6 separate regions of the Homo sapiens genome follow, and all the other regions are linked to region 4. Evidence: promoter capture Hi-C in human tissues and cell types (Jung and others, 2019). All regions are on one chromosome and are shown on one strand. The core of a region is centred on a gene start or on the middle of the fragment in contact, and the rest is flanking DNA. Distances in the headings are between cores, read along the strand shown.

Region 1 (2,850 bases), core at 260-2,759, 210 kb after region 4:
TCTCAGAAGGTGGGATCCATATATTGAAAATTTTTCATATTTTCCTTATAAAGTGAAGGTAGTAGTCAGACTGGCACTTTCTGTTTAATATTACTTTACAATTTATAGAATAGTGCTTGGTTTAATTAAGCTCTGAGCCTCAGTTATGAAATCTGTAAATTGAGGATAATATAATAATTGGGACTGGTACTACAGTACCTCATAGATTGTTCTAAGGATTAAATGAGAACATGCATGTCAAGTGCTCAGCAATGTACCTGGCATTTAATAAATGCTAGGTCTTTCCCTTATGAGATCATAAGTCTTACATGATTATTTCAATAAGCCTCTAAAGTAGACAAGAAATGATCAGTTAACCTTGTTTCATGAATGAAGATGAAGCTTAGAGGAAAAGTATCTTCCTTGGGGCCACACAGCCAAAAAGTAGAAAAGCTAGAACCTGAATTCAGAACTTCTGACTTCAATGCTCTTACTACTGTGCACACTCAGTTTCTGGGGCACACCATAGACCCCGAAAAGATACATACACACAAAAGAGTTTATGCAGATCTTTATGAGTATGTACAGCCAACAATAAAACAAATATGCTGTCTATGTACTTACATGCATTATTAGAAACATACATGCACATTTTCCCAAATCTGTTTTAATTTCCTCTTAAAATCTTTATGAATGGACTGCTAAAAGTGTATACTAAGGCCATTCATTTTTTGGCAGGTCAGGTTTCTCACAGCTCTTTTAATGTACCAAAGTGGTGGTAGAATGTGAAACTTTTAATACAGCCACTTGAATTGTCTACATATTCTTTTTAAGGGATATGAACCTTAGTTACACATTTTTTCTTCTGTATGTTTACATAGACTCCATCAGAAAGGTTTCAGCCAAGTAGCCTCTTTCCAGCTTCCAATGCCACATATTTGCAGAATGAAGAAAACTCAACTGGAGAAGAAATGGAATGTATGTGGCCGACTGGAACAGTGCTTTACTACAGCATCACCATAATATTGCACATCAGTAGAAAACCACATCCAGCATAAACTTCAGAGAAGGCAAATGTGTCATGGTGGAGACACAGGCTGTGGAGCCAAGTAGGGGTGGGTTTACATCCCTATTTGTCAGTGGAGCAAACTTGTGCCCATCTTGAGTTCAAGGCCATACATTTTAATAAAATATTTTTGTCTGAGTAGATGTAGAAATATTATATTGGTCAACATCTGCACAATTGGTATTAATTAATTGGTTGATAACTAATTATTCAAAACTCAGTGGCTTATAACACTAAGCATGGATTTTCATGTTCATGGATTTTCATGTTAATAATTTTGGCTGATCCAGGCAGGACTCAGCTGGGCATTTCTACTGCAGGGCGCTGAACCTACCTCCAGTGTATGAACTGTGTTACATTTGGGCTCAAGCCTGCAGGGCAGTGACAACTCAGTACACAGAATAACCATGTTAAGTTATGGGACTGAGCAAAACCTCAAACCAACATGTACAGTCAAATATTTGATAATGACATTGATAAATAATTATGCTTTTTATCCTTTATAATTTTTCAAATGCCTTCAATTTTAACTTTTCCTTAATTAGGAAGTAAAGATAGGTATATATTTTCATGTGGCTTTAAATAGAAATTTCCTTAAATGGCCTCATTTGGGGGGAAAATATCTGAAGTAAATATTCCTTAAAGTATAGCTTCTTAAGCTTTGCATGGATCACTTGTTAGCTTCCTAAAATGTAGATTGTCATTCAGTTCATCTAAGGTGATTCCGCAATGTTGGATTTCTGACATGTTCTCAGGGATGCTGATGATGCTTTTGAATTCCGGACAAATTTTAAGTAGGAAGGAAAATAATGCTACATCCACTTTTTTATTATTTTTGTAGAGAAAGATTTTGTTTCTCAAATGATAGTTATATGGTTTATGTAATAAAATGAAAAAAGTTTATGCAGATCAATAAAAATGTGTATTTCAACAGTTTCTAGATCATGCCAGATGAATAATAAACACTGAATGATATTCAACAAAAGAAAAACCTCAATCAACAGTTCTTAGCCTTGATACATTTCTCTGTAAAATATTGAGCAGATCATTAATACCTCAAATGCCTCAGCAAACAACCTGAAGTTCTAGCATGCACTCCCTTCAGCTCCCAGGGTCACTTCTGTTCCAGAAAGCACAGGCCTATAGCCTCTTCTGTTCTGAAACTCTTAGCTACTTTTGTGTAGCTGCTGCTTCCAACTTCCATTGCCAGGATTCCATTCTCTATCCTTCATCATTTCTTCTAGCATCAGAGATATCTTTCTGAAACTCAAATCTTACCATAATCTTCAACCACTTATCTGCAAATTAAGTTCCCTCCCAGCACCTCTGGGTTAAAGTTCAACTCCCCTCACAAGGCCTACCGGCCATTCTACATGCATTCAATCAACAAATATTTACTGTGCCATACTATGTGCCAGACGGAGTTCTACATGCTGGGGAAATCAAAGTCTCGACCTTCATGGAGTTTGCATTCCAGTAGGAAAGATGGATTCACAAGCAAATAAATGTAAATAAATCAGATATTGTCCTAGTACAGTCGTACCCCCTTCTCCTCCTGCCACTGTGCCCTATACAGTGCATACCTGCTCCCCATTTCTCTACACCCCCAGGTACATCATGTTCTTTCCTACCTTTGAGCCTATATGATTGTTGTTTCCTCTATCTAGAATGTCCTTGACTCTTCTCTACTTGGAACAGCATAATTATCTTTGAAGATACAGTTCACATGACCTGCAATGTGAAGCTTTTACATATATAGTTATTATTATTACTATTATTTTTTGAGATGTTGTCTCACTCTGTCG
Region 2 (2,856 bases), core at 64-2,563, 180 kb after region 4:
AGTCTCACTCTGTCACCCAGGCTGGCGTACAGTGGCGCATTCTCAGCTCACTGCAACCTCTGCTTCCCGGGTTCAAGCCATTCTCCTGCCTCGGCCTCCTGAGTAGCTGGGATTACCAGACACCTGCCACCATGCCCTGCTAACTTTTGTATTTTTAGTAGAGACAGGGTTTCACCATGTTAGCCAGGCTGGTCTCAAACTCCTGACCTCAAGTTATCTGCCCGTCTCAGCCTCCCAAATTGCTGTAGGTGTGAGCCACCACGCCTGGCCGACATAAGTGTTTTTTATCTCTGATTTCCCAACATCGAACAGTGGATTTATGTTTATTCAATGAATAACTAAATGAAGGAATGATGCTTGTTCTTCTATTTTTTAAGCTGTAAACCACATAAAATATATTTTATCAAGGGCCCTCCTGCTATCTTTCAAGGCCTTTGCTTTCTGTATTTAGTTGTATCATTCATCACTTCCTTACATAGACCATCTGACCCAACCAACCGTAAGTCTTTACTCATGCAGCTTGCATTTCCTCCCTCACCCCATCCCCAGCTGGCTCCGCAAAACCAGACATCCCACATTTAATCTGGTGACATTGCCTTTCCCCTGACTCCACTTACCTTGCAGCCAAAAGATAATTGGATGCTTAGTTAAGATAGATCCCTGGCAGGAGGCTGGCATTGTTTTCTCCTGATGTGTCTGTATTTCGACACCTGGGTTACTCTTCGGGCTTCTCCAACTGACTCTCTGGTTTTAATTTGCCTCAACATACCATTTGGTTTCTTCAAGTAGCTGAACTGCTCCCTTCTTTTTGTCCCTGGAAGAGGGGAGCTCATTTAATAATTTCATAATGGAATGCATTTCTCTTATAAAACTGATTAATGTCCCAACTACATCTAGGAAATGAAAAAACAGATATCCCTGGAAGTTTAGTCAATTACTGATCGGCCAAATTCCTAGGTTCCATTATCGGATAGAAAAAACGAACACTGAATTTGGAGAAAAATGATCTGGAGTTGATCCTAGCTTTATCACTTGCCCATTACGTTTCTTCGGGAATGTACACCTCCTGAGATTTGATTGCCTCCTTGGAACTAATGATTCTTCTGTGCTTCATAAGATTATCACGGGTATGAAGTGATTTTACGAAGTCAAGAGTCATTTTAAAACTTTGATGGATTACACAAGCAATAGTTGTTACTATATAAGAAATTTCCACTCAAATCTGTAACTCCTACCTGACCTTTTCTTTTCAACAATGGTTATACATTTTTTAAACATGCAATATAGTTATTATCCTTCTAGCAACAAAATCAGTGAGGGCCAGCATGTGAAGTTCTAATAAATCCTGAACTCAGTGTGTTCTAATATGCACTGAATTAGTTTTTGACACACCCTCTCCCAATACCGTGTGATGTAAGGGTTGTGATCAGTCTTATAAATTTTCATATCATACGCCTAAGTGGTGACAGAAATTCTAAGCCTACCAATTCATTTGTTCAAAAATTCATTTGTTTCTCCAAATATGAATTTAGAAGTGTGCTTCCTAACTGGCCTTTAAGAAGCTGTGTATCGGCTGGGTGCAGTGGCTCACGCCTGTAATCCCAGCACTTTGGGAGGTTGAGGCGGGTGGATCACGAGGTCAGGAGATCGAGACCATCCTGGCCAACACGGTGAAACCCTGTCTCTACTACAAAAATACAAAAAATTAGCTGGGCGAGGTGGCGAGCACCTGTAGTCTCAGCTACTCAGGAGGCTGCACCAGGGGAATGGCGTGAACCTGGCAGGCGGAGCTTGCAGTGACCTGAGATCGCACCACTGCACTCCAGCCTGGGCGACAGAGCAACACTCCGTCTCAAAAAAAAAAAAAAAAAAAAAAAAAAAGAGCTGTGTATCTGGCTCTGGAAAAAGTTCTACTCAGTCTCATCACAGTGGGGCTCAAGTAGTGGATGTGATTTATTTTGTGTTGGTTTTCATCATAAAGCCCTGGTGTTGAACTTTAGCTTCTTTGATTCAATAATGATAATACTAACGAATGACAATGATTATGTTATTTTTAAGGCTTCTCTGGAGCTATGTATTTTAAGAAATTAAGGCAATTTACATGTTTTATACTTGAAATGATGGTTCGTGACCTCACTATATAAGGCATTAGATATAGCTAATTATTTGCCTGTGTTAGAATCACCTTATTTTGATATAGAAAGCAGTCTTTTTTTTACTTTGCCAGATTTTAATTTTTTTCTAAAATTTCAGTAATCTCATTATTAATTTCCAGACAGTAAATATTAATTGCATAACATTAAATACACAAAAAGTATGAAGATATTTAATAATATTTACAACCTTATTTTTGATACTACATGTCAAAATTGTTGTATATGTCCTTGCAAATAAACACACACACGCATACACATTTTTAAAGTGAAATGTATATTAAATATTTCACCTGGGACATTTTACAAATTTTTCCCTGTTTTAAAACAAATGCCTATTTATTATAAAAAATTTGAGAGGACGTTTAAGATGTTTTTACTCATTAAAGACATCTTAAAGAAAGTAAAACAACAAATTACCAACTGCAAGAATTAATTTGTAACACAATTAATTGATAAGTGACTAGAATCAAGAATATATAAAGAGTACATAAAAAGTTCCTTTAGGCCAGGCGCAGTGGCTCACGCCTGTAATCCTAGCACTTTGGGAGGCTGAGGCAGGCGGATCACAAGGTCAGGAGATCGAGACCATCCTGGCCAACATGGTGAAACCCCGTCTTTAAAAAAATAAGTAAATAGCTCCTTTAGATACAAAACAAAAAGACAAAATACCCTAATGAAAAATGGATTTTAAAAGTATGAA
Region 3 (2,875 bases), core at 362-2,861, 220 kb after region 4:
TATTCCATGTTCATGGATAGGAAGACTCAATATTGTCAAGATGTTGAGTCTTCCCACTTGATCTATAGATTCAATGCCATGCCAGTCAACATCTTAGCAGTTATTTTGTGGATATCCAGAAACTTAATTTTACAGTTTATATGGAGAAGCAAAAGACCCAGAATAACCAACACGATATTAAAGGACAAGAACAAAGTTGAAGTACTGACATTAGCTGACCTCAAGACTTACTAAAATGTGACAATAATCAAGAGAGTACAGTATTGGTGAAAAAAAAATAGACAAACCAGTGGAAAAGAATAGAAAGCCCAGAAATTGACCCAAATAAATTAAATCAACTGATATTTGACAAAGAAGTAAAGGCAATACAATGGCACAAAGATAGTCTTTTTAGCAAATGGTGCTGAAATAACTAGACATCCACATGCAAAAATAAATACACAAATCTAGACACAGGTCTTACATTATTCAAAAAAATGAACTCGAAATGGATCACAGACCTAAATTTAAAATGCAAAACCATAAAACTCCTAGAAGATAATATAGGAGAAAATCTAGATGACTTTGAGTTTGGAGGTGACTTTTTGTACAACACCAAAGACATGACCTATAAAATAAAGAATTGATAAACTCAGTTTCATTAAAATTAAATTTTTCTCTTCTGTGAAAGACACTGTCAGGAGAATGAAAAGACAAGCCACAGGCTGGGAGAAAACACTTGCAAAAAAACATATCTGATAAATAACCGTTATTCAGAATAAACAAAGAACACTTAGAACTTAAAAATAAGAAAAGAAAAAACCCAACTGAAAAATGGGCAAAAGACTGTAAAGACACCTCAGCAAAGATGATGTACAGATGGCAAATAAACATAAGAGAAGATGCTCTATGATGTATGTCATCAGGGAAATGTAAATTAAAAGAATAAGGAGCTACCACTACTTACCTACTACAATGGCCAAAATCCAGAAAACTGACAACACCAAATGCTGTTGAGGATGTGGAGCAATAGGAACGCTGATTCATTGCTGGCAGAAATGGAAAATTGTAGAATCACTTTGGATGACAATTTGGCAGTTTTACAAAAAAACTAAACATACTCTTACCATACAATCCAGCAGTCACACTCTCTGGTGTTTACTCACAGGAACTGTAAACTTGTATTCACACAAAAACATACACACAGGTGTTTATGGCAGCTTTAGTCATAATTATTAAAACTTGAAAGCAACCAGTATGTCCTTCAGTAGGTGAATCAGTCAGTAATCTGTAGTACATCTAGACATGGAATATTATTCAGGGCTAAAAAGAAATAAACCATAAGCTGTGAAAGGACATGGGGAAACATCACTGCATATTACTAAGTGAGAGAAGCCAATCTAACTATGCTACATACTGTGTGATTCCAACTATATGACATTCTGGAAAAGGCAAAACTATGGAGACAGTAAAAGGATCAGTGGTTGCCAAGAGTTACAGGGGAAGAGAGGAATGAATAAGCAGAGCACAGCAGATTTTCAGGATAGTGATTCTGTATGCTACTGTAATTGTGGATACATATGATTGCATGTTTGTCCAAACTCATAGCATGTACAACACCAAGAGTGAACCCCAATGTAAATGCTGGACTTCAGATGATAATAATGTGTCATTGTAAATTTGTCAACCATAACAAATGTACACTCTGGTGGGGGGTGTTAATAGTGGGAGAAGCTGTGCATGTGTGGAGGAGCAGGGTTATTGGAAATCTCTGTACCTTCCCTCAATTTTACTGTGAACCTAAAACTGCTATTTTTAAAAGTCTATTAAAAGGAAAACTAAACAAAAATATGCCTATGAGCATCACCCTAGATCAACTGAAATGAAATATGTGGGAGACAGGGCCCTGGCACTGCTATTTTTTGAAGTTCCCCTGATGATTCTAATTTGCTGCCAGGATGAGAGCTGCTGTGGTAGACCAGAGGTTCTCAAAGTGTGGTTCCCTGGCAAGCAGCATCAGCATTGCCCAGGGAATTATTAGAGATGCAAAATGTCAAACCCCAACCCCAGCCTTCTGAAGGAGAAACTCTGGAATTGGGGTCCAGCAATCTGTGTTTCAACAAGCCTTCCAAGGGATTCTGATGCACACTCAAGTCTGAGAACTGCTTGGTACACCCATGATGTAAAGAGAGGAAGCATGTAGGAGTCTGTGCGGAAAGAGGTACATAGAGGCTCCAAACTTTCGTGTCCCCTCGAGTCACTACATCCTATCATGTCTGGGCCTTTATGTACTCCTGCTGCTTATTTCAGTCACTTAGAATGCTTTATGCATATGTAGAAACACAGGTACTCACTCTCTAGAGAGGGAAGACAAGGAATGCACTCTCTACCCTCCAGTGCCCCTCAGATGGAGCCTGTCACTCCCTTTGTGCACCTGAACACAGCATCGGGCCTGTATTAGTGTAACAGCCTGCTAATGAGTCTTTCTCAGACCACAAGACCCTGAGCCTCTCAAGGGTAGAGATAGCATCTTACATATCTTTGTTTTCTCAGCACTTGGCAAGGATCTGGCATAAAACAAAAAGGGGATCAGTAAGTGAATAATGAGTAAAGCTGTCTAATATAAACAATTATAATCATTATTTTCTTGTATTGACTACCTTTTCAGAGAGGAACACTTTAATCACAATAACCTTACATATACAGTCATTCTGTATATGTGCATGTCAGAAACCCCCTCAGATACCAAGCTCTGCAGTTGCCGAGGTTGCTTATATAAAATGCCATAGTATTTGCATATAACCTGTGCACATCCTTTTGTATACCTTAAAGCATCTCTTCTCTAGATTACTGATAATACCTAATACAATGCTGACACATCACTTCATTCACCCGG
Region 4 (3,049 bases), core at 202-2,701:
CACAAACTTAATGGAGTCCCTTCCTAGAGTTAAAAGTCAATCTTCAATCTAAAATTCCACCAGAGCTATTCCCTAAAAGCTCTTTGGCATAAATCTTGTGGTATTTATACTCTGCAGAGAAGACTAAATTCCTAGCAATTTCCACTTCCTAAAGTGACTTTGGTGCACCTATAACAAACTCCTTTTCCGAACACTTCCACACAAAGCCCCAACTTACAGGCAGATGGACAATCCAGCAGCAAGACCTGCCAGCTGAGCTAGCACAGAGAAAAAGTCAACTGACATAAAATATTTAAATTGCAGGAGGCGAGTCTGGAGTTTTGCATTTAAAAAGTTCTGAAAGTCCTGTTCTCTCTGCTCCCAGAGTTGCTGGCTGCCTAGGAGGCTGAGTCTCCCTCTCTCAGGCACAAGATCTCAAATATGCAAAAACTAGAGCTGACTTGAAAGCTGAACCAGCTCCTGTCCTAAGGTAGAGTGATAGGGGGGCACGGCCGACAGCAATAGGAGAAAGTCTAGAGTCCCCTTGCCCCAAGCAACTGGTTTCTGATTTTAACACTGAAATATACAAACATGTGTCCCTCCAGGGCTAGTTCTGAGAAGTAGGCAGGTTTACTCTTCTGCCCCTTTTTACCTCGATTTTGGTGACTCTGAAAAGTAAATACAGGTCAAAGCAGACTTCCTCTAGGATTTGTAAAAAAGAAAATATATATATATATATATATATATATATATATATATATATATACACATATGTATATATATATATATATATATATATATACACATATGTATATATATATATAGCCAGATGCAAACAATCACAAAATTCCTTGGAATTATATCTCAAGAAACACCAACAGGACTGACTCAGAGCCTGTAAAACACCAGAGTTCTGGAAGAGCAACATTTCTGGAAACCCGGCATGTGAATCAAGTGCTGGGTTGTCTCAAGATTCCGGCAGAAACTGTCCTCTGCTACAAGAGTTGCTGTGCCTGGAAACCCAGCGTCCAAACTCGTGGATTCATCCTGGCGCTCATTTCCACGTACGTGGTAGTATCAAGTGGGACACTTCCCATAGAATTCAGCCAGAAACCCTAGGAAAAGCTCATGCATAGCTTAACAAAAATACACAAACACATCCCCAAGGTTGAAGTACTTACCTCTGTGCGAGACTGCAGTCTCTTGTTCATCTCATAGATTCGGTACTCTGGCTGTACCATGTATGGTGTATGCCTCCTATAAAATGGGCCGAAAGGAGAAGAATAGAAGGGGTCATGTGGTGTGCTGGACATCTTGCCTGCTTTTCGAAAATCAAGCTAAACAGAGTATCAGTAACGTCCATGCAGAGCACATGGGCTGTGTTCTTCCCAGTACAAAGTAGACGCACGCACACACGCTCACACACACACAGAGGCAGGCAGGCAGGCAGGCTGAACACGCTGGCTGGGAACTGCTGTCGGAGCCCTCTATAGCAGGAGAGGAGAGGGAGAGGAGAGGAGGGAGGGAAAGAGGGAGGGAGGGAGGGAGCACGGGAGAGGAGGGAGAGGGAGAGAGCAGGAGCTCCAGAGAGGGAGGGAGGTTGGTATGGAGGAAGGGAGGGAAGAAGGGAGGGAGGGAGGGAGGGAGGAGGGAGGGAGGGAGGGGGAGAGAGAGAGAGAGAGAGAGAGAGAGAGAGAGAGAGAGAGAGAGAGAGAGAGAGAGAGAGAGAGGAGCTGGATAGCTTTAGGCACCACTGCTTGTTTTTAAAGAAGCAGTTTGTGGAGAGGTCATTTCCTGTCCACATTGTAGACTAGTTCACAAATATAATTCTCCTCACAGTCTGACAAGAGGTCTAAGGTTTGGTTTTAATTTTTTTCCTCCAGCCAGGACCCTTCACAACCTGATTGCTAAGCTTGTTAGCATAGAGGTGGTCTAACCGCTACATGAGCCGCTCACCCCTGACAACCACACTGTTGTAATGTATCAGAAATGTTGATTACTACAAAATACAGAAACACGGGCACTGTGGTGCCCCGAATTGGGACCGGTGATTCACTCACATGCAGAGATTTATTTCAGCACTAATCTCCCTATGTAGTTTTGCTTTACTTGCTGTTGTTCCAAGGGCTGTTATATTCTTTGCCCTCCACTCCATCTCACTCCCATCTCTCCCCACTCACCCCTCTTCCCAGCCACCTCCCTCTTCTCCAAAGACTTCATTCAGGCCCTTAAGGTGCCTGGGCATTTTCAGGTAAAAACAGTCGTTCTGAATGTGGAAGGTATAAAATACACTTAAGGAGAGCAATGGTCTTTTTTCCCAGGAAGGAAAAACAAACAAACAAACAAACAAAAAACCCAAACAGACCTCCCAATAAGACAGGAAAAGCAAAGAAGGAGAAAACTGCCACAAAAATGACCACGGAAAATTTGGTTGAGAAGGAAATTGCAAATAATTGAATGGATCATCCCCAGATAACATGTCCAACTCTTATGGAGACAAAGTCTGTATTTTCCAAGATTGGTCAAGTAAACAAATATTTTCCCAACTGTGGTATATGATAACCATAAGAAATCCCAACAGCCCATGGAAGGGGAAAATCTCTATAGAGAATTAAACAATCTATAAAATAATCAAATTCTGCTAGAACCCACTATAACCAGAGATACGACACTTAAACAAAGCCCAGCCACACAAAATTTAAATGTATTGAGCTAACACCTAGGTAGGTCAGTGGTATTAAGGAAATAAAGCAAAGGACCACCAAAAAGCATAATGAATTCAAGACCTGAATGCAAATGCATGCAAATGAGACATTTCTTCTTTTTAATAAGCAGATTAATTAACTTTCTGCCCCAATCATGGCTTGGGTATCTCCAAGTCACTAGCCAACAGGGGATAGAGTATTGCTAATTCTGCAATTTACACTCTTAAAAATACTCAGACACAGAAAAGTGTATTGCTGTCTTGATCAGTCCTTCTTCATAATTGCATGAAATATTTGCTGAGTCCACCCCAAACTTCCAGCAGCGCAGCCTAACACACTAATGTCGCTTCCCAGGATGAGATTAG
Region 5 (3,113 bases), core at 267-2,766, 180 kb before region 4:
TTATTTTAAGTAAAATCAAAGCTAATTTAAATATTTATCTTCCTTTAATTTATTAAACTTCAACTATTATAATCTCTCTTAAGCCAAGAGAGACTCAATAACTCATTCATGGTCATATAAAGTCCATGGTGGAGCCTGATGTGATGGTTGATTTTATGTGCGAATTGGCTAGTTTCTAATGTCTAGTAATTCAATCAAACCCTAATCCAGGTATATGTTCAAAAGTATTTTGTAGATGTGATTCAGTTCCTAATCAGTTGACTTTAAGAAAGATTATCCTAGATAATGAGAGGTGGAGGGGTGGTGGGGGCGGGTAGTATTAAATCAGTTGAAAGGCCTTAAGAGCAGAGCTGAGGCTTTCCTGAGGAACAGGAAATTCCACCTGTGGACTGCAATGTCAGCTCACACCTGAAAGTTCCAGCTCGCTCATCTCCATTGGCCTGCCAAATAATTTTCAGATTGCTAAGCCATCCCCAACAATCACATAAACCAATTCCTTGCAATAATTCTCCTAATATATGTCTCCTACCGGTTTTGTTTCTCTGGTTGAACCTTGACTGACACACCTGAGTTCAAACACAAATCTCCATGTCCAGAGACAGAGGCCAGCTCTGATCTTCTGGCATCATGGCAACCATCAATGTTCAACTCATCAAGGTCAATTGGTTCAATTGACTTTGTCAGGTCCCCATTAACTTAATTAGGAAGCTTTAACCATATGCACCATAAATAAGCAATATGGATGTTCGTATATTTATGTAACACTACTTCTACTATTTCTAAGACAATAATAGTAATATTAATAGTCATTAACATTTACTAAGGAATTACCATGTTGCAGCAAAGGACCAAGATCTTTAAAATCGTTATCTTATTTCATGGATAGAAGCTATAAAGCGGTAGGATCCTTCTCAATACAAGGAAGATTTTCTAAGCACAAGAGCAGTCTAAAGATAGACTAGGCTGATCCAAGAGATGGAAAGCTCTCCATCTGTCATGGAATGCAAGCCCAAGTTCAAGTCACTTGACAGGGAAGTTAGAGAAAAAATTCAGCATTGGATGTTAGCTGAAGTTGACAAACCATAAACTCCCTTATTCCAAAACTATGTCCTCTGGCAATTTACATATTTAATCTCCATCATATTTTTAAACTGTTGATAAAACTGTCCTTAAATGACTGAGTAAGTGTATGCTTGGACTGTTTGTAAAATTGGAAATAAATCAATGAACCTTATCTTTCCTTTTATAGCCTCCCATGAGGGTATAAAGATCTATAAACAGGCACACAATACATGCAAGTTAAATCAGGGTCAGTTCTTAATTATCCACATTGATAACTGAAGCAAACGGATAGATAATCCAAAATATAAGGGACAGCATGTTTTGCCTCTGGTCTTTAAATTCTGTGTCCCCACCTTTCTATGATCAGGAAGAAGTAGCTCTTGGCTTAAAAAGTATTCACTTCCTAGATAGAATTCCGGTTCTCCCTTTCACTTTTAATATCTATGTTAATTTTTTAGAATTATTAATTAAACTGAGTCCATTAAAATTAGCATCATTTTTTTAACAAAAATTTCCCCTGGGCTCTCTAAAATTCAGATCATCCAACAAAAAAACTGAGGGGGAAAATGGCAAACTTATTGCACACAAATGTATCCATAGGACATGGAGCAACAAACCTAAATTGTGAAGTGTCAGCAGATGAAAAGTACTTTGCTTCTTAAAGGAAACTCACACTGATCTGATCCTAACCACAGAGGAAGTCTCCTTGTCTCATCTTGACACTAAAACTACCCAGTTACTCTGTCGATAGGGTTGGGCACAGGCCAGTTAGTCTAGATAATCTAAAGCCGAAAGAGGGTGAAAGTACAGTGATGTTTGTCAAATGCTTCCAAGAATTTAAGAGAACTAGAGATAAGGTATGAATCATTCACTTTCTAAGCCACAGTCCATGGCTCGGCAAAGTAAATAAAAGTTTCAAATTCATTTTCATTTTGTTTAAATAAAAAATTAAAATACCATAAACTAATTTAAGACAGAATGAAATGCTGTGTCCATGAGAGGCTGCTGGATTAGAAAGTAGAACAATCTGGGTTCTAGATTCAGGTCTGTCAATAATTACCTAAGAGACGGCAGGCAAATTATGGAACTTCTCTGGGCCTCAGTGTTCTTAACATAGTAGCAGCTACTACTTCATGAAAGCTTTCTTCCATGTATTTTGGTTGTTTTTCTAAAAGCACTTTGCATTTTAGTTCAGAGAATCCTTCCAACAACCTTATAAACTAAGTACCATTAGTAAACCCACTTTACAGAGGACAAAAGTGAGGCACAGAAAGTAGCTTGCCCAGCAGGGGTCATGTTAATGGGATCAAATGGAATTCCAACCCACATTTAACCACCTGCTACACTGCCTCTCAGCTGGAAAACATGAGAGATGAACTGGGTGCCCTCTCAGGACACCTCTCAGGACCCTTTAGCTCCTTTTTTTCTGTGATTCTACAATATAGCAAAATATCTATTAAGCAGATATTTTTAAAGGGCTAGCCTCAGAAGGAAATTCCATTTGAATACATTCATCCTTTAAGATGTGTATCAACTGTCATCTCTTTTGTGCCCTAGGCAAAGATGCCATCGTATCCTAAATGAGGTGAGTATGGTTTAAATTCTTCTCTCGGCACTCACCATACTGTCTTTATCCAATCTTTCTTATCTAGTTGATTGCCAACTTTCCTACGTCAGGACCATGGTTTGTTCATCTCTGTGTGACCCAAGAAGCTGTAACATGATAGGTAATCAATAAATACTGTATTTGTTTATAAGAGGACAGAAAACTCAAGGTTCTGAGGGTAGGGTCTGTTTGGCATGATGAGAAACAGCAAGAAGGCCCAGACAGTCCTCACCTTATGATGGTTCCACTTATGATTTTTTGACTTTACAATGGTGTGAAAGCAATACATATTTAGCATGCTCCTCAATTTCTGATAGGGTTATATACAGATAAACTCTCATAAGTTGAAAATATTATAAATTGAAAGTGTATTTTTGGCTTACAGTGTACTCAACTTATGATGGGTTTTCCGGATGTAACTCCACAGTAAGTTAAGGAGCATCTG
Region 6 (2,743 bases), core at 3-2,502, 150 kb before region 4:
GATATTCTGCAATCGAAAACTAAAATACCTATCAAATAGATTGTCTCCAATTTTTTACACATCACTAAAATCAAGGCAGTTAATGACACTTCCCCCTATACTTGGCTCTAAAATATTTTGAAGATGATTCAAAGAACAAAATATGATATGTGGTCCTTGTAAACTAGGTTTCTTCTAGACTGTTTAAAATGAAAATGAGAGTATGGAAACTTTAGCAAGTTACTAATAAATAGACTCATGTGGTTTGTTTGTTTGTTTGTTTGTTTGTTTTAGACACAGTCTCACTCTGTCACCCAGGCTGGAGTGCAGTGGCTGGATCTCAGCTCACTGCAACCTCTGCCTCCTGGGTTCAAGTGATTCTCGTGCCTCAGCCTCCCGAGTAATTGGGATTACAGGCACCCGCCATCATGCCCAGCTAATTTTTGTATTTTTAGTGGAAACAGGGTTTCACCATGTTGACCAGGCTGGTCTTGAACTCCTGACCTCAAGTGATCCACTCATCTCTGCCTCCCAAAGTTCTGGGATTACAGGTGTGAGCCACTGCACCTGGCCAAGTCACGTGATTTTTTTTTGCTTGTTTTTTGTTTTGAGACGGAGTCTCACTCTGTTGCCCAGGCTGGAGTGCAGTGGCTTGATCTCAGCTGACTGCAAGCTCCGCCTCCTGGGTTCACACTATTCTCCTGCCTCAGCCTCCCAAGTAGCTGGGACTACAGGTGCCCGCCACCATGCCCAGCTAATTTTTTTTGTATTTTTAATAGAGACGGGGTTTCACCGTGTTAGCCAGGATGGTCTCGATCTCCTAACCTCGTGATCTGCCCGCCTCGGCCTCCCAAAGGGCTGGGATTACAGGCCTGAGACACCGCGCCCAGCCAAGTCACGTGTTTTATGAAGAATTAGGAAACATTAATTTGAATCCTGACTTTATTACCAGCTAGCTGGGTTGCCTTGAGCAAGTCAAAGCCAAGTCAATTTTTTGGTTTGTTAGCTGTACATATAAATACAGATTATAATAGCTATTACTTATTGAAAAACTCCTGTGTATCAGGGATTGTATGTATGTTACTCACAAATACTATAGTAACAGTGTCAGATAGACACTATTTTCATTATACAGATCAAAATGGTGAGACTCAGAGAAATTAGGTGTAACATCCGAGGTCATATGGTAACTGCAGGACAGGGTCGTGATTTGAAGCCAAGCTTGTCTGACTCACAAGCCTGGGCTATTTGCCTTTAAAGTGAGGGGTTATGTAAGGCATTCTCTAATTGGGTCATCCTGGAAATACAGACTGAGTATGTGATTTCCACAGAACAAGGCAGGCAGAAGGCCCTCCTCCTCTACACCTCAGAGGTAAGTCACATCTCAGTTCCTGTTGGTCCAAATGAATGCAGGCTGAGGCAATGGCAGAGACCCAGAGCCCAGGCGGGGAGACTGCGGGGATTTAAGAACTCGTTTACTTAGAACAGTGAAAAGGAAGTCAAGCGTGAACTTTCTGAGCTCCAAAGATATTCTCAGGGCCCATTTGCGAATAAGCATAAATCTTCAAATTTATCCAAAGTTTAGCAAATTCACAATGACAAATGTAACAGTTCCTCTAAATTGAAGTTCATCTCCTGGCAGTTTTGGAGGCTTGGAGAAAATGCCAGCAACAAGGACTTGGAAGGAAATAAATCTTTAGATTCCCTGAAAACACAGAGAGTTATTGTGGAAGACATATGGAGGACCCCATACTGCGTTAAGAAAGAAAATTTATAAATGTCAGCTTCATAGCAGCAATGTCGAAGGGATTTCAGCAATCCACACTTAACTACAATAAGAAAAACAGGCTGCAGGTACACATTTGCCACGAAGAACTAATTATGCTTAACCTGTGCTCTTTCTGGGAGGAGCAAATGAGGAGAGAAGGAGGTAAGTGTCCAGGATCCAGAGTAAGACATTAGAATTTTTTTTTAATCCAAACAGGTCACGTTTAAAGATTCTCTATTGTTGAAAAAAAAAAAAAAGTTCTGAATAGTGGGATGGTAAAGGGTACACAGTATGGGCCTATATGGCAGAAGAGTTGAATTCTGCATCTTTGAAGGCCTCGCTTTTGTCGTCTCTTCAACACTAATGATCAATCTGACACCTGCTCCCAGGTTTGTACTGATGATGGAATGACGCATGGTCACCAAGTACTACTCAGCAAATATTGACCATGGGCCTTTCTGTATCACAGAAACAGGCACAGTGACTACAAAGGTGAATGACACACAGTCCCCACCCTCAGTAAGCTTACAGATGGTCCTGATTTATGAAAGCATTTCATAAACTGTAAAGCATTATTAGAATGTTTATCATTTTAACTTATTAACTAATCCAGTAAGTCATTATTGAACATATTTGAAAAACACCAAGAACCAACTACGTGTCTGACTCCATTTTTTTGGCAAATTATAATATCACAGCAAGAAGTACTTACGTGGGACTAAAAATTCAAATCTGTATCTGTCTCTTTTTAGCCAAAGCCACGGCTAATATTGGACAGTCTTGATTTTTTTTTCTTTTCCAAAGGGAAAAAGGTAATAAATGAAACTGCAACTTTAAAAATGGGAAAATAGGTGGCTGGGTGCAGTGGATCATGCCTGTAATCCCAGCACTTTGGGAGGCCAAGGCGGCCCACTCACTGGATGTCAGGAGTTTGAGATCAGCCTGGCCAACATGGTGAAACCCCGTCTCTACTAAACATACAAAAATTAGCTGGGC

What was found. Contacts are between HindIII fragments. The study calls those that stand out against the background at their distance.
Region 1: a contact is called between a fragment that was not itself captured here and the fragment with the promoter of LDB2 in region 4, in 2 of the 25 tissues and cell types used here (dorsolateral prefrontal cortex and mesendoderm cells).
Region 2: a fragment that was not itself captured here is called in contact with the fragment with the promoter of LDB2 in region 4 in 1 of the 25 tissues and cell types used here (IMR-90 fibroblasts).
Region 3: a fragment that was not itself captured here is called in contact with the fragment with the promoter of LDB2 in region 4 in 2 of the 25 tissues and cell types used here (dorsolateral prefrontal cortex and heart left ventricle).
Region 5: a contact is called between a fragment that was not itself captured here and the fragment with the promoter of LDB2 in region 4, in 3 of the 25 tissues and cell types used here (H1 embryonic stem cells, IMR-90 fibroblasts and heart right ventricle).
Region 6: a fragment that was not itself captured here is called in contact with the fragment with the promoter of LDB2 in region 4 in 1 of the 25 tissues and cell types used here (mesenchymal stem cells).

Annotation. Positions count from the first base shown.
Region 1 is chr4:17,102,444-17,105,293 of GRCh38, forward strand. No RefSeq gene overlaps it. Among named protein-coding and RNA genes, the nearest start is that of LINC02493, 82 kb to the right of the region's middle. The HindIII fragment of the contact is 3,469 bases long and covers 1-2,850 here.
Region 2 is chr4:17,081,821-17,084,676 of GRCh38, forward strand. LOC105374507 (a long non-coding RNA gene) reads right to left here and starts at 809. Exons shown (of 4, transcript XR_925441.3): 1 at 618-809. The HindIII fragment of the contact is 8,233 bases long and covers 1-2,856 here.
Region 3 is chr4:17,119,963-17,122,837 of GRCh38, forward strand. No RefSeq gene overlaps it. Among named protein-coding and RNA genes, the nearest start is that of LINC02493, 65 kb to the right of the region's middle. The HindIII fragment of the contact is 6,905 bases long and covers 1-2,875 here.
Region 4 is chr4:16,897,194-16,900,242 of GRCh38, forward strand. It overlaps LDB2 (LIM domain binding 2), which reads right to left and starts at 1,452. Exons shown (of 8, transcript NM_001290.5): 1 at 1,161-1,452. The coding sequence starts at 1,292. The HindIII fragment of the contact is 10,471 bases long and covers 1-3,049 here.
Region 5 is chr4:16,719,963-16,723,075 of GRCh38, forward strand. The region is part of intron 2 of LDB2 (LIM domain binding 2); the gene reads right to left. Among named protein-coding and RNA genes, the nearest start is that of LDB2, 180 kb to the right of the region's middle. The HindIII fragment of the contact is 6,090 bases long and covers 1-3,113 here.
Region 6 is chr4:16,743,905-16,746,647 of GRCh38, forward strand. The region is part of intron 2 of LDB2 (LIM domain binding 2); the gene reads right to left. Among named protein-coding and RNA genes, the nearest start is that of LDB2, 150 kb to the right of the region's middle. The HindIII fragment of the contact is 3,381 bases long and covers 1-2,743 here.